Regions from separate parts of the Homo sapiens genome. Here region 2 is linked to region 1. Evidence: promoter capture Hi-C in human tissues and cell types (Jung and others, 2019). All regions are on one chromosome and are shown on one strand. Each heading gives the region's core, a stretch centred on a gene start or on the middle of the fragment in contact. The rest is flanking DNA. Distances are from core to core; before and after follow the strand shown.

Region 1 (7,786 bases), core at 1,716-4,215:
ACCTTCTCCTCATCACTTGGATAGCAGCACTGAGATACCAGCTGTTCTCTAAACACGCCATGCTTTTTCATAGGGTTCTCCTTGCTTAGGATGTTTATTCTCTTTCTAGCCCCGCTTTGATCTCTAAAGATCCTTCAGGACCCTTATGAAATGTGACTACTCTAGGAAGGTTTTCCTGAGATTTCTAGGCAGAATAGTTCATTTTTCTATGCTCCAAAAATTGTGTGTTCATGCATTAATGCACTTCTCATAGAAAGTTCTATATATTTTTTAAGTATCTTGTTTCTTCTGTATTATGAGTTTCAAGAAGGAATGGACAGAGTTTGCCTCTCAAATACCAGGACTTGGTTTGTCATAGGCACTCAAAAATGTTGATTTTTGAATAGCTTCTTTCCAAGGCTCCCCATTCCTGCTTACAGAAATGTTACCATCTAAGGCCCACCTCAAACACAGTTTCCCCTGTACCCCATTTTCTCCCACCTGGAGTGCTTTTTTTTTTTCATCCCAAAGACCTACAGGAATTTCCTTTGTTCTCTGATTTGGAATTTTAAAAAATATATTTAAACAAGGTATTTAAAAAAATCTGTCTCCTTGTCTGCAAGTTGATTGAAGTGGAATCTGTGTCTTCTCTATCCAGAGATGCCTGTATTCCCTGAATCAGTATCTTATACCCAGCAGATTCTCTGAAGGATATTTGCTGAATGGAGGAGTTAAGCCAAGGAAAGATAATCCTTAGTGCAACTTCTGAAAAGATACAGGTGACAATACCACTAGCTCCAAAACATTCTGCATAATGTCTGCTTTATTTCACTGCAGTTTATGAGTGCTCCAATTCTAAGGGAGATTATACAGCTGTCAAATACAAATTATCAGTAATTCACACAGTAGAAAGGATAGATTCAATCAGGTTTCTTTCCTCTTTAAACTTGCTTAATGTTGATGAGATATTGACAATGATCAACACATTACATTTTTAGTTCTATGGATTTCCAGTAAATTCTCTAAGCTTTTCTATGTATACAATCATAAGCTCTGTAATGAATTATAATTTGGTATCTTATTTTCAATATTTAAAACTCATATTTCTAAACTCACATTTCATTTTCGATAATTTATTATTTTTAGTTAATTACATAATAGCTCATAATTCCTTGCTTTGTCTTTTATTTTAATGGTGTAGAAGTTATAATTTCCGTGTCTTCAAGCCCCCTTCTCCCCACAAAACACTTAGTTAATATGAGGATGGAGATGATGAAAAATTGGATTGAGGACCAGGTAGAAGGTAATTTAGGTAGTCATATGCTTTATTGTTTTGAAAGAAAGGAGGTGGAAAAGGGAAGGGGTGGGAGTGAGGGTATCAGAGAAGAATTGGGATGAGAGTAAAATGAATGGATTTTATCTTGGAATTCTTGGGGCAAGAGGATGAGTACTGGTACTGGGGACTGGAACAGTGGTTGAATAAGGAAGGTCAGATGATGTCAATGACTAATTTCACTTGTTTTGGAAATTTTCTTTCAGATACCTTTCTTCTTCCAGTTTGGCATTAGAAATCACAATGCAGATATATCATGGGGCAAAAAGACCTTTGTGGAGACTCTAACATTGCTTTTATAGAAAAAACATGACCACATCTTCATACACTCAATAAACACTGGGGGCACCGCCTGCTTTAAGTGCAAGCTGCATAAAATAAATTGATACACAAATGAATTTTTTATTGATAAGTGCAAAAAGATTACATTTAATGTTTAAAAAAGATTTAATAGAAACAATTTAAGAAAAGGGAGTAGTTGAAAGAAAATAGTAGGCTAAGAATTGAATATAGAAATAGATATGAAGAAAATTGGAAGAAAGTTACTTCAGGGTGAAAAACTGTTAAAAAAAAAAATGACTTAGATCACACACTTGGTGGTGACCAGAGACTGTTTGTCAATATTTTGGAGGAAAAAAATTTTACAGAAGGAGAAAATAAGTAATGCTGGAGAGTGGGAAGCTGAAAGGTATTGAAAGGAAAAGAGTATTTGGAAGTCACGAGATATCTCCCTGGGAAATAGAGTTGGCAAAATGGCTGATTTTAAAGAGGTTAACTATTCTCCCCAAATTTCTGACTGTGAACTAGCTTACTTTATATTTACCCACTTAGAAAGTGTTTCAACACTTAAAGACTTAGCAAGGAGACCACAAAGTATAAGACGTTACATACTTTTCCAAAAGAAACACGACTAACTGTAAACTGTCATCAAATACAAATGGAATGGGTTTTCTCTTTTGGGTTTTATTTTTTTATTTTTAATTTTTTGGTGGTTGTTTTCGTTTAACGGTTTCAAAAAATATGTAGAAGGGAAATATTTCATTTCCCTTGGACGCTCAACTGTATATATTTCAAGATTCTTAAAACCCCCACCTCAAACTGCAGGCTTAATTTTAATGTGTTCATTTTTTACAAGGTGTGTCAACGTTTTATCAATTTCTGAAAAGTGTCTATGGCCCCGAAAAGTTGAAATCCACGACATTATATCATCTCTGCGAGCCCTTTCCAGCTCTCAAGGTACAATAATTCCACGAATCTTTGTTCTTCAAACCAGGAGGTTTTCTGGAAACCTTCTTAAACAACCAGGACAGGACCCATGAGGGAAATCTTGGGGATGCTCTGAGCAGCGGACGGGGCTTGGGAAGCGCACCCCTGTACCCGGGCTGCCTCCGGCCCGCACCCCGCCGCTCCCCAAGTCGGCTCCGCACTCCGCACACAGGCGGCGGCGCTGGGGCCGCTCCAAGTGCGTTGAGAAGTGTAATCCCTCCGCTAAGTACTTGGCTCTCAGTCTCCAATCACTAGTGGGAGCTGGAGAGGGCAAGTGAAAAAAAAAAATTCCAGAGGCAGCCGAGGAGCGAGAGGGAAAAAAAAAAAAAAAAAAAAAAAAAGTCCCGCGGTGGCGGCGGCGGCGGCGGCGGAGCGGCCGCGGCGGCCAGAAGTTGACGGCGCAGCCGGGCGCGGGGCGCGGAGTCGGCGGGGCCTCGCGGGACGCCGGGCAGTGCGGAGACCGCGGCGCTGAGGACGCGGGAGCCGGGAGCGCAGCCGCGGGTAAGGCGCGCGCGGCGGGGCCCCGTCCCCTGCGGGTGGCCGAGTTCCCGAGCGCGCGGGAGGCGGCCGAGCCGGCGAGAGCCGGGCAGAGCGAGGGGCGGCGCGGGACGGGTAGCGGCTGGGTGCGGAGCTGGGCGGCGGTCGCCCTAGGCAGGACGGAGCGCGCGAGGGAGAGGGCGAGAGCGAGGGCGGGCTGCGCGGCCGTGGGGCGGTGGCGGCGGCGGGGAGGGGGTCAGGCGGTGGCCGCCTCGGCTTTGTGCGCGGGCGGCTCTGCCGGGACCCCGAGGCCTCGTGCCTGCGCAGGCGAGGAGTCGGGGCAGCGGCGGCGGCGGGCGGGACACGTGCTTCGGGCTGTAGGGACGCCCCAAGGCAGGGAGTCGGACCTGCGAGCGGAGGGATGGGGCGGGAGGGCGAGCTGAGGGCAGTCGCGGAATCCGGGAAATGGGAGGGAGCCCGGCGGGGCGGGGGCCCAGGGCCAGCCCAGGCGGGACCCGCAGGCACCCACCTGCCCCGGACGCCTCCCGAGACCCAGCCTTGCCGTGGGGGAAAGTGCGCAGCGGGCTGGTCCCGGCGCCTTGGACTGGGCTCCGTCTCTGCTTCAGTTGCCTGTCTCTTCTCCTCTCTCTCCTGCTTCTCTCTCTCTATGCCTCTCTCTCAAGTTCTGGGTCTTTCATTCTCTCCCTTTTCTTCCTTTCTCCCTTCCTCTCCTTATTGCTATCCTTTGCCTCTCCCCCCGGTCTCTCTTTCCTTCCGTGCGTCTGTCTCCCTCTCCCCACCGCCTGCTCTGGCTCTCCCAGTGTGTCCCTCCTCTGTCCCTTCATCCTCTTCCCTCTGTCACTTTCGCACAATCTTTTGGTCTCTCTCTCTCTCTCAAGAGGCTTTCGCTCCCGGTCTTCCTGGCTCCCCTGTCTCTTGCTCTCTGCGCCCATCTCTCTGCTCGTCCCTCTTTCTGTCCAGGCTCCGTGTTTCCGCCTGTGTTTGGCGGTGTTGGAGAAGAGCCTCTGGAAGTTGTCCGCTGTGGTGCGGGTCTTACTTCTTTAGAGCTGCACCCCTCCAGCTGGGTCCTGCTGTTTGTTCTGAATGGAAACGCTGCAGTTCCCTTGAGTTATTAGAAACTGCTCTTTTCTTAGCCACCTTTCCAGCAAGGTGAGGTCAGTGACTACGAGCGGCCACAAAGGTGCCAGTGAAAGACAACGGAGGAAGAGAGCCGTTTCACTACCTCCAACAGATAAAGAAAATGTGTTAATACCAAACTTACCTGCAGCAAAGCAGAGCCACCTGAGAAAAGGTTCTTGAGTTCTGCAAAGAAACATAAAAGGCTCCACTGGAAATGAGAGGGTTCAGCTAAAAAGTGTTTGCAAATAATTTGAAAAAGCACTTAATGGAAATCTCTTGCTGTGCTAAATTGATGCCAACGAATCTCTGTTTTCTTACATATATTTTTAGGATTCCAGTGACAACTCTCCTAATTATTGTTTTGGGCAAGTTATGGGAAATGTCCTGTGTCAACTGGGATGTTAGTATTTAAGAAAATATTCAGTCTTTGTACTTTATACCCCTTTACACTCTAGTGATCAAGAAGAATTATTTCTAGCTGTAAAGAAAATAGTAAAGGATTCGTCAGTAATTTTAAAACATGAGACATGCCGGTGATCAATAATGTTTTTGGAAAACTTTCATTATAAGGATGTTTTGAAGGATGTTACATCTTAGTGAAATATGTAAGTTATTACACACTTAGATCATTGTGCAATGCAAAAAAGTTTGTGTTATAAGCAGATCATAGTAGTGATGTCTTTTTATGGGAAACATAGCTGGGAAATTAATTGCTCTGATTTTCACTGTTTTCTTTAGTCATGCATAATGTACCTTTGTGTTTAGCAAAATATGGCCTAGAGCTACAAAACTTGATACAGTGTGTTATTTGTCCAATCTGAATTACCATTTAGAAAACCACCTTTTCCTTTTAGTTACATGATATAAGTTGATATGATCTCATTACTCATGTGCTAGGGGCCGCTGATGAATTTTAATGGCACTGATTTGTGTTTTTAAATCAAAATGTTAGTTTTTGGTGAGTTAAAATCTTGATTTATGTCATGTTAGTGAATCATCACTATTTATAGGGGCTTTGCCACCTTGTCTGCCAGGTGCTGCCCAGCATTTAGTCTAGGCTAGGTTGTCTGAAATTCCCTGTTAGATTATTGTCCCTGAGTGACGTGCTGCCACGGCCTGCTTATGTATGTTTCTCTAAATGTTCCAGTCGTTAAATAATATTTATTAAAAGGAAATTGACTTAAATTTTTCCTCATAAGCTTTGGGAACTGTGTGAGATGGCCTGATAAAGTATTTTTATTACAGTAAATGCTGATTTATTATTATTTGTTTAAAAGTATAAGGCAGTTTAAAATGTGCTTATCTTTTGCCACATATAGCACCTCCTCCAGCTCTTTCTGAGCACTCAAATCGTATTTATCATCCAAATCTAAAGTCAGTTGTCACCTACTCCAACCTAGCAGAGCCTTCCTGATTTTCAGAAGCCCCCTCACCACTGCCTCTGCCTCTCAGGCTTCTGAGTGCCCCTCTTTCGGTGTCCACCTCTGTGCTGTATGGTTACTTGCTTGGCGCTTCCTTGTTGGACTGTTATCTCATTGAGGTGAGATAGTGTCCCTTGTTTCTTTTTCTCTGAATTTCAGATGCCCAGCACAGTACCTGGTATGTGATAGATACTCAAGAAATCCTTGTAGGACGATTGGTTCTTTTCCAAATTACCTCTAACTTGTGATACTGATTCTTTGTGGATGCAGTAGCTCAAGGAAAATACTTAAGAATAGTGTAATAGCAGATCATAGACTTAGGATTGAAAGAGTCTTAGCATGTCATCACACACATTAATAATATTAAAGATGAAGAGGATGAGGCCCAGAGAGTTTGAAAAACCATGCTCAGAAATAGAAAGTGAGGCTAGGATGGCTATGGAATTGAGACTTTACTTTTTTCACGGTGCCACAATTCTTTTCACTGGACTCATGTTTGACTTCTTTCACTAGAAGTGGGTAAATATGTCTATAATTAGAAGCTGTAAGTTTTACTCTAAACTCTGAAGATTTCTTTTCATGTCATCCAATAAAAGCCGTGCATGAAATGTATCACTTTGCAATAACTGATAATCATTTCTGATGCATGTAAGCATGGAGGTAACACCGATCTTTAAGAACCTTGACTCCTAAATTATTTCTATGTGGTAGGCATTGTTCTGGGTGATAACTGTGTTGGGCAGAATTACTATTTCTTACCTGCAAAGAAGATTTAAGCTCTCTGGACTTACATTTTCCGCTGTATAATTCTGTGTGTGTGTGTGTGTGTGTGTGTGTGTGTGTGTGTGTGTGTGTGTTGAAGGGGGTTAGGGAGAAGAAAAAGGAAGTTTGGACCAGATTAGTGGTTCTTTTTGAAGTTTTCTTCAGAGACTACCAGTTTAACTCCCAGAACAACTGCAAATTCATCTGTTTTACATATCAGACTTCCTGGTAAGCTTTTGTTTTAAAAAAGGCTAACACAGCTTTAAAAAAACTTGAAGACCACTTTACTTGTTGTCCTCCAGTCCCTCTTCCAGTTCTTGAATTTCATAATCAAGATCATTTTTAGCTTTTAAATATGGGTATTCAGAGGATGGTTGGTGAAAGTATTAAAGACAGAAGGAAAAACTGATTTTGCCTTAGAGATACTATTAATAATTTCAGGTTTCCATATGCTGAATTTTATATGATGGCAGAAACTGAAGTAGAATTGTTGAGATATGTATAGGCAGGCCAGAATTCAGGGAAAGGAGGGGTTGCGGCTAGAAAGGTAGATTAAAAAGTCGCTTATATGACTTAATAACTTAAATTGAGTGAAAATAAAACTTTTTAGGCATAGAGTACAGAGAGAAGCCAAGATTTAGGAGTAGACAAAAAGGACATTTTGTTATGTTATTTCTGGGTATTTTTAAAGCCCATCACAGTGGTAAGAAGGGATAATGTATAATTTACATCAGGCAATAATTTGTTTTCATGATGTTCAGGACATCCACTTACATGCCAATATTCTAATTACATTCATTTTTACTTAAATGTTTGAATGCCTACTCTGTGTGTGGCACTGTTATACACTGTGGGGACACTGTGACTATAAGAGACACAGATCCTTGCTGTCATTGAACTTGTAGAGAGTGAAAACACAATCAGCTATCCACAAACACATGAATAAGATTATTTCCAATAGTGAAATTTGCCATTAGGAAAACAAGACAGGGTGATAAGACAGCATGTGACTGGGCTATTTTATATGAGGTGGTCAAGGAAGGCCTCTGTAAGGATATTCTTGAGTAACAAGAAAGAGCCAACCCCGTGAAGATCTGAAAGAACTTCCTATCAGAGGACGCACTAGGGTTGTCTCTAAAAGTAGCAAGCTAGGCACTCACTGGCCAGGGAGGCTGGACTCAGGCAATTAGAGGAAGTGATAGGAATGAGGTCAGAGAGGTGGCGAGGTTCGTAGTATAAAATATGTATTTTATTCAAAGTACATTCTGTTGAACACCCTGGAGGATTTTAAACAGAGAAGTGAACAAATATGATTTAGCATGTCTGTATATAGTGTGAGCAAGAGTACCTGAATAAGGCCATGTGGGTGGCTATGAAAATGATGTAGCTGAGAGTTTGTTGGCTTGGC
Region 2 (7,786 bases), core at 3,621-6,120, 200 kb after region 1:
TGATGGATTAAGTTTATTGATTTGCCTTGCATCCCAGGGATGAAGCCGACTTGATCGTGGTGGATAAGGTTTGTGATGTGCTGCTGGATTCGTTTTGCCAGTATCTTATTGAGGATTTTTGCATCAATATTCATCAGCGATATTGGCCTGAAATTTTCTTTTTTTGTTGTGTCTCTACCAGGTTTTGGTATCAGGAAGATGCTGACCTCATAAAATGAGTTAGGGAGGAGTCCTTCTTTTTCTTTGTTTGGAATAGTTTCAGAAGGAATGGTACCAGCTCTTCTTTTTACCTCTGGAAGAATTTGGCTGTGAATTCGTCTGGTCCTGGGCTTTTTTTGGTTGGTAGGGTATTAATTACTACCACAATTTCAGAACTTGTTATTGGTCTATTCAGGGATTCGACTTCTTCCTGGTTTAGTCTTGAGAGGGTGTGTGTGTCTAGGAATGTATCCATTTCTTCCTGATGTTCTAGTTTATTTGCATAGAGGTGTTTATATTATTCTCTGATGGTAGTTTGTATTTCTTTGGGATCAGAGATGATCTCCCCTTTATCATTTTTTAATTGTGTCTATTTGATTCTTCTCTCTTTTCTTCTTTATTAGTCTGGCTAGCAGTCTATCTATTTTGTTAATCTTTTCAAAACACCAGCTCCTGGATTCATTGATTTTTTTGAAGGGTTTTTCGTGTCTCTGTCTCCTTCAGTTCTGCTCTGATCTTAGTTATTTCTTGTCTTCTGCTAGCTTTTGAATTTGTTTGCTCTTGCTTCTCTAATTCTTTTAATTGTGATGTTAGGGTTTTGATTTTAGATCTTTCCCAATTTCTCCTGTGGGCATTTAGTGCTATAAATTTCCCTCTAAACACTTCTTTAGCTGTGTCCCAGGGATTCTGGTACATTGTGTCTTCGTTCTCATTGGTTTCAAAGAACTTATTTATTTCTGCCTTAATTTCGTTAGTTACCTAGTAGTCATTCAGGAGCAGGTTGTTCAGTTTCCATGTAGTTGTGCGGTTTTGAGTGAGTTTCTTAATTCTGAGTTCTAATTTGATCGCAATGTGGTCTGAGAGACTGTTTGTTATGGTATCTGTTCTTTTGCATTTGCTGAGGAGTGTTGTACTTCCAATTATGTGGTTGGTTTTAGAGTAAGTGCTATGTGGTGCTGAGAAGGGTGTATATTCTGTTGATTTGGGGTGGAGAGTCTGTAGATGTCTGTTAGGTCTGCTTGGTCCAGAGCTGAGTTCAAGTCCTGAATATCCTTGTTAATTTTCTGTCTCACTGATCTATCAAATATTGACAGTGTGGTGTTAAACTCTGCCACTATTATAGTGTGGGAACCTAAGTCTCTTTGTAGGTCTCTAAAAACTTATGTTATGAATCTGGGTGCTCCTGTATTGGGTGCATATATATTTAAGATAGTTAGCGCTTCTTGTTGCATTGATCCCTTTACCATTATGTAATGACCTTCTTTGTCTCTTTTGATCTTTGTTGGTTTAAAGTCTGTTTTATCAGAGACTAGGATTGCAACCCCTGCTTTTTTTTTGTTTTCCATTTGCTTGGTAGATCTTCCTCCATCCCTTTATTTTGAGCCTATGTGTGTCTCTGCACGTGAGATGGGTTTCCTGAATACAGCACACTGATGGGTCTTGACTCTTTATCCAATTTGCCAGTGTGTGCCTTTTAATTGGGGCATTTAGCCCATTTACATTTAAGGTTAATATTGTTATGTGTGATTTTGATCCTGTCATTATGAGGCTAACTGGTTATTTTGCCCATTAGTTGATGCAGTTTCTTCATAGTGTCGACGGTCTTTACATTTTGTTTTGTTTTTACAGTGGCTGGTACCGGTTTTTCCTTTCCATATTTACTGCTTCCTTCAGGAGCTCTTGTAAGGCAGGCCTGGTAGTGACAAAATCCTTCAGCATTTGCTTGTGTATAAAGGATTTTATTTCTCCTTCACTTATAAAGCTTAGTTTGGCTGAATATGAAATTCTGGGTTGAAAATTCTTTAAGAATGTTGAATATTGGCCCCCACTCTCTTCTGGCTTGTAGGGTTTCTGCAGAGAGATCCGCTGTTAGCGTGATGCGCTTTCATTTGTGGGTAACCTGACCTTTCTATCTGGCTGCCTTTAACATTTTTTCCTTCATTTCAACTGTGATGAATCTGACGATTATGTGTCTTGGGGTTGCCGTTCTCGAGGAGTATCTCTGTGGTGTTCTCTGTATTTCCTAAATTTGAATGTTGGCCTGTCTTGCTAGGTTGGGGAAGTTCTCCTGGATAATATCCTGAAGTGTGTTTTCCAACTTGGTTCCATTCTCCACATCACTTTCAGGTATACCAGTGGAACATAGGTTTGGTCTTTTCACATAGTCTCATATTTCTTGGAGGTTGGAGGCTTTGTTCATTCCTTTTCATTTTTTTTCCCTAATCTTGTCTTCACACTTTATTTTATTAGTTGATCTTCAATCTCTGATATCTTTTCTTCCACTTGATCGATTTGGCTATTGATACTTGTGTATGCTTCACAAAGTTCTTGTGCTATGTTTTTCAGCTCCATCAGGTCTTTTATGTTCTTCTCTAAACTGGTTAGAGAGCATGTTGTCAGATGGGAGATGAAGTGCGTGTTTTCATCCTATTCTCTCTCTGACCAAACCAGAGACTGGTTTATTCCTTGGAGCCCAGAACAGTTCTCGCTCATTACTATACCTTAGCTTTCCTGATTCTTTTCTCTCCGTCTAACATGTTCTCAACATTTATTTTCTACTCATATACTTCATGGCTGAGTGAAAAGAGTGAGACTGACTGCATTTCAGATCTTGACTATACAAACTCTGCAGCTTTGGCTAGATTATTAAACTTTCTACCTATGCAATGCATATCATTAAGGCTGCCACATATGGCTGCTCAGATTGTGCAATGCACATGCCAAAGACTCTGTTTACATAGATTTCAGTATGTGGAATGCACAACCACCTTTGCAGAATTGTGATGAGAATTAGATGAGCCCATAAAGAGACTAGTTAAGCATAATGATAAAGAGTGGGACTTGAGAGCCTGCGGTCCTGGTTTTATAACTCAGTCTTTCTATTTATGAGCTGAGTGATCTTGGGCAAATAAGCTGTATGATCATATTTATATTTTCTGTGTCTCCCTTTTAGTTTTCTTTTTTAAATGATGGAGACCACAATATATATCTCAAAAGGGATATTCTGAAGATCAAAAGTGTTAATATTTATAAAGCACTTAGAATAGTTCCTGATGCATACTGAACACCCAATATATATTAGCTGTTTTGCTTATTGTATGAAAATTATTTAACATGATGCTAAATGCTCTTTTACTGGTAATTCTTACTACTGTTATTATTATTATATAAGACTTACCCTTCACATTCACAGTCTGTCTCCATTAGGTCTTTCCTAACCCCCTTATACTTTTAATCTTTCCATCATTAGACTTCCAAACAGCAAGAATTGTAGTGGGTGTATGATTTAGCTTAGAACTTATGTTGCTTTATAGTATGCATATTTCTATCTCTGTAGTTAAACTGGAAGGCACCTGAAAAGTGGGAATGTGATCAGTACCGTTATGGTGTTTAGCATCTTCTGCCTTGCCTATAACTAGTGTTAGCTGAAGATGATTCAATTTCTGTCAACTGCTCTGAAGAGAGTTGCTTCCTTCAGGGCTTGAGGCTTGAGAACTGGAGAAGACAGCAGAAACTGTGTTTCATGATCTCCTTTTTTAAGGACTTTATATCCATGTGATTACTTAAGCTTAATATACACAGCAGTGAAAAATGAAAATTAATTAAAATCTAGGATGTGTAGTCAGACTAGCAGCAGTAGGAGTTTAGAAGAGAGTCATGTGTGTAAGAGCTGAGTTACAGAGAAGAGTCTTCCTGTGGGACATGCCTTAAATAGATTTGTATGTGTCTAGATAGAGGTGGACTGGACCTTCAGTCAGTGCTAATAATGTTAATACTAATAGTCAATACTGTTACTAATCCTAAGAGCAAACACTAGCAGGTGCATGCTATGCTAGGCATTGTTCCTCATGCTTTACACGTATTAGCACATTTAATTCTTTTTTTTTAAAGACAGAATCTCGCTCTGTCACCCAGGCTGGAGTGCAGTGGCACAGTCTCGGCTCACTGAAGCTCTGCCTCCTGGGTTCAAGCGATTCTCCTGTCTTAGCCTCCTGAGTAGCTGGGGTTACAGGTGCACGCCCCCACACCCGGCTAAATTTTGTATTTTTAGTAGAGACAGGGTTTCACCATATTGGTCAGGCTGGTCTCGAACTCCTGGCTTCAGGTGATCCGCCTGCCTCGGCCTCCCAAAGTGCTGGGATTACTACAGGCTTTAGCCACCGTGCCTGGCCAACACATTTAATTCTTGCAATAGGTCTCTGAGGCAGCAAATACTCTTTCCTCATTTTATAAATGAGGAATCAGATGTTGCCAATAGATTTTATTTAGTTGTGTTTGTGATTACAAGTTATACTTTATTTTTTAAGTTCGCAATAAAATGAAAACCTTTACAAATTCTTGGTATCTTACGTTTTGAAATTATAGTTCATCAGTAGTTTTAAAACCAAACATGCCTTGTAATTTCTTTCTACGTATTTAAAGACTTATTTTTAGAAGAGAGTTTTAGGTTCACCTGTTTGTTTCTTTTTTTTAATTTTTAATTACCTTTTTGTAGAGATGAGGTCTTGCTGTGTTTCCCAGGCTGGTCTCAAATTCCTGGCTTCAAGTGATCCTCCCACCTCGGTCTCCCAAAGCACATGTTTCTTTTTAAATAAAAATTGTTTTTATGATAACCCCCTCCCCATAAAGACATAATATAATTATTAACAATAACACAAAAAGATAAGAGGCTTTTATGTTTTGGAATGTGGGGTAGCTTATTTTAACCTTCTTTTTTAATTGAGGTCAGCACATCAGATTTTAATGGTTTCTTGTTTGTATGATGAAAACTAACTGGTAAAGCTCATCTCCAGAAAGAAAAAAGAACAGAGTACTGAGTTTGTGGAACATTTATAGAATAGAGTTCTGCATTTAATTTCTAGATACCTGGGTGACAATAACAGACCAGAATTTACTTTTTAACAACTTTAACAGATTTAGTGTGCTCTTATCATACTTTATAATATGAATTATGGATCATTGGCAAATCCCATCAGTAGTATTTTTGGCAGCCCTTTGATGGAAGTAGAGTTTGATTTTTACTGTGTTGTTTAAAGAAAGAATTTAATTTTTTTTTTAACTCTTCAAAAAGGCTCAGTTTCAGTGTAATTGTAACTACATCTTTTTCTAATGGGCTTTAGGTCGTATTACTTGTGACATCAAAGAAAACTGCATATTTTCAAGTAGAAATATAAATTAAGAGGTAACTAAAGATGAACACAGGCATCATTGTGGTAAAAATTGTAAAGCAGTCTTTTAAATTGTAGATTACTATGTTGATACACACAGCATTCAATGACTGTTACTGGTTTATTCATTTGGCAAAATAACAGATAATCAATAGGGCAAGTGTTGTGAGTCCTCTAATTGGGGCCATATTTCCCAGGCTATTTACCTATCTTTCTTTCTTCTCATTCACAGATCTTGCTGGGGATTAGTGTTAACAATCCTGTGTTTGAGCATGCCTGTGAAACTCGATGCCTCACCTAGGAGGCCTGCCTTCCATGGCGGTATATGAGGTGTGACTATAAAGTGTGAGACTGGTTTCCACTTTATGGACACACTGTGTACAGAGAGTCCACCTCCTGTTTCGTGTTTTTTTTTTTTTTTTTTTTTTTTTTTCCTTTTGCAACATGTGTGTGGGAGAATGTATATAAGAATTTTTTGTGGCTTTTTCTTTTTGTCTTTTCATTTTCTTATAAGACTTTAGGATGTTTAAAATGAGCTCTATTACTTGTAGTGCTGTTTGCAATTTCATGTGCCCTTTTTTCTTTTTCTTTTCTTTCTTTGTTTCCCTCTTCTTTCCTCATTGTTTGCACTGCAACTTTAGGTAAGAAATATTTTTCTTCGACTGGCCCACCTTTCTACTGTTCCTTTAGCTCCTCACAGGAATGCATCAGATGGTCTTGTGATCATTCATTTTTATGTAAGTCTCAGAGACAACATATAACTTCAGTTAATGAATTAAAGTATTTCATCAACTCTGAGATCTAAGATACATTTCGCTTTGAGATCTAAGATGATAAATGTTACTGATTGTAAGATGTATCTTTTTCAAATATGTTAAAAATGTAAAAAATACAGGTTTTTGCATCGGTGAAATATGGTAACCTTTTTATTAGGTTGTATACGGTGGGTTATCACTCATATTTGATATGAAATAAGAAGCGTAGATGGAATCAAGATCAACATGTGTGTTGATTTGTAGGCCATTATTAACTTTGGAAACTGACTACTATATATATTCTTAAAAATATATGGAATAAAAGGTAAAAAAATGTTTTCTAATTCTCAGTCCATCCATCGTTTATCAGCATTCTACTGAGAAAGCAGAATAAGCAATAATAGTGTTCTATTTGGATCATTCACATATGATTAATACAACATGGTGGATAATATCATGACCTTTAAAATAAAGCAGACTTAAGCTCTAGCATGTATCTGTGAGACCTTGAGCAGATTACTTCATTTCTTTCCGTTTCCTTGGATAATAAGCACACCTTCCATACAGAGCTGTGTTGATGAGTAAAGTATTACATAAGTAAGACATTGTATATACTGTCTGGGCATATGGCAGGTGTATTACCTTGCTAGGGTTACCCTAACAAAATACTGCAGACTGGGTGGCTGAAACAACAGATTAACTTTCTCACAGTTCTGGAGGCTGGAAGTCCAAGAACAAGATGTCCATAGGGTTGGGTTCTTGTGGGACCTCTCTCCTTGGCTTTCATTTGGCTACCCTTTGCTGCTTCCTTCTCATCATTGTCCCTCTATGAGTGTCATCTCTCTGGTGTCTCCTTCTGTCTCCTAATCTCTTATAAGAACGCCAGTCATGTTGGGTTAGGGACCACCCTAACAGCCTTGTTTTAACATAATTACCTCTTTAAAGGCTTTGTCTACAGATACTGTCATATTCTGAGACTTCATCGTATGAATTTTGGGGAGCACAATTCAGCTCATAACAGTAGGTCCACAGTGTTAGTCGTTGTTTGGAAATGTGTATTTCTTATTATGAGGATGCTCTCATGGTGTCTGGTGTCATAATTAGTAGTGTGGGTAACCTGTATCTCTGTACTCTGAAATAAGAGGACTCAGGCTGGAGTGGTCAGGGGCTCATATGAGTACATTAGGGCTTTAACTAGGGAATGAGGATGGTAATGCAAGTTTAAGCAGAATGATTACAGGTCAGGAGTTATAAACAATGATTAAAATCTTGATTTGGAATGAGCATGGTATAGTTGGAAACACGAGGAAGCTGATTTGGCTGGAAAAGAGCCTGAAGTGTGGAAGTCTTGAGAAGGTAGGTGTCAGTAGGATAAGGGAGACCAGATTTTAGGGTTGCTTGAAAGCCACGAAAAGGTGTTTTAACTCTATGATCCTAGTGATGGGGAGTCCATATTAAAGATTACAGAACTGGAGGGGGACGCAGAAAGAATTTTGGGATTTTTAGTCTACAAATTTCTTTATATTTTTAGTATAAAAAGTAAGCATTCATTTACACATGACTTGTGGAATGAAATACCTTTTCCAAAGCATTTTAAATGATCCTGTTAGTAATCCATGATAATGTTAAGGTAGTTGAAGTATTACAGTCTTATGAGACATGTAG

Evidence for each region. The method cuts DNA at HindIII sites, captures the fragments that hold promoters and counts their contacts. A contact is called where the count stands out against the background at its distance.
Region 2: a fragment that was not itself captured here is called in contact with the fragment with the promoter of BMPR1B in region 1 in 1 of the 25 tissues and cell types used here (aorta).

The regions. Positions count from the first base shown.
Region 1 is chr4:94,754,990-94,762,775 of GRCh38, forward strand. It overlaps BMPR1B (bone morphogenetic protein receptor type 1B), which reads left to right and starts at 2,966. Exons shown (of 13, transcript NM_001203.3): 1 at 2,966-3,079. BMPR1B-DT (BMPR1B divergent transcript) reads right to left here and starts at 2,544. Exons shown (of 3, transcript NR_121610.1): 1 at 2,405-2,544. The HindIII fragment of the contact is 6,502 bases long and covers 1-6,002 here.
Region 2 is chr4:94,951,562-94,959,347 of GRCh38, forward strand. All of the region lies in intron 2 of BMPR1B (bone morphogenetic protein receptor type 1B), which reads left to right. Among named protein-coding and RNA genes, the nearest start is that of BMPR1B, 200 kb to the left of the region's middle. The HindIII fragment of the contact is 4,014 bases long and covers 2,864-6,877 here.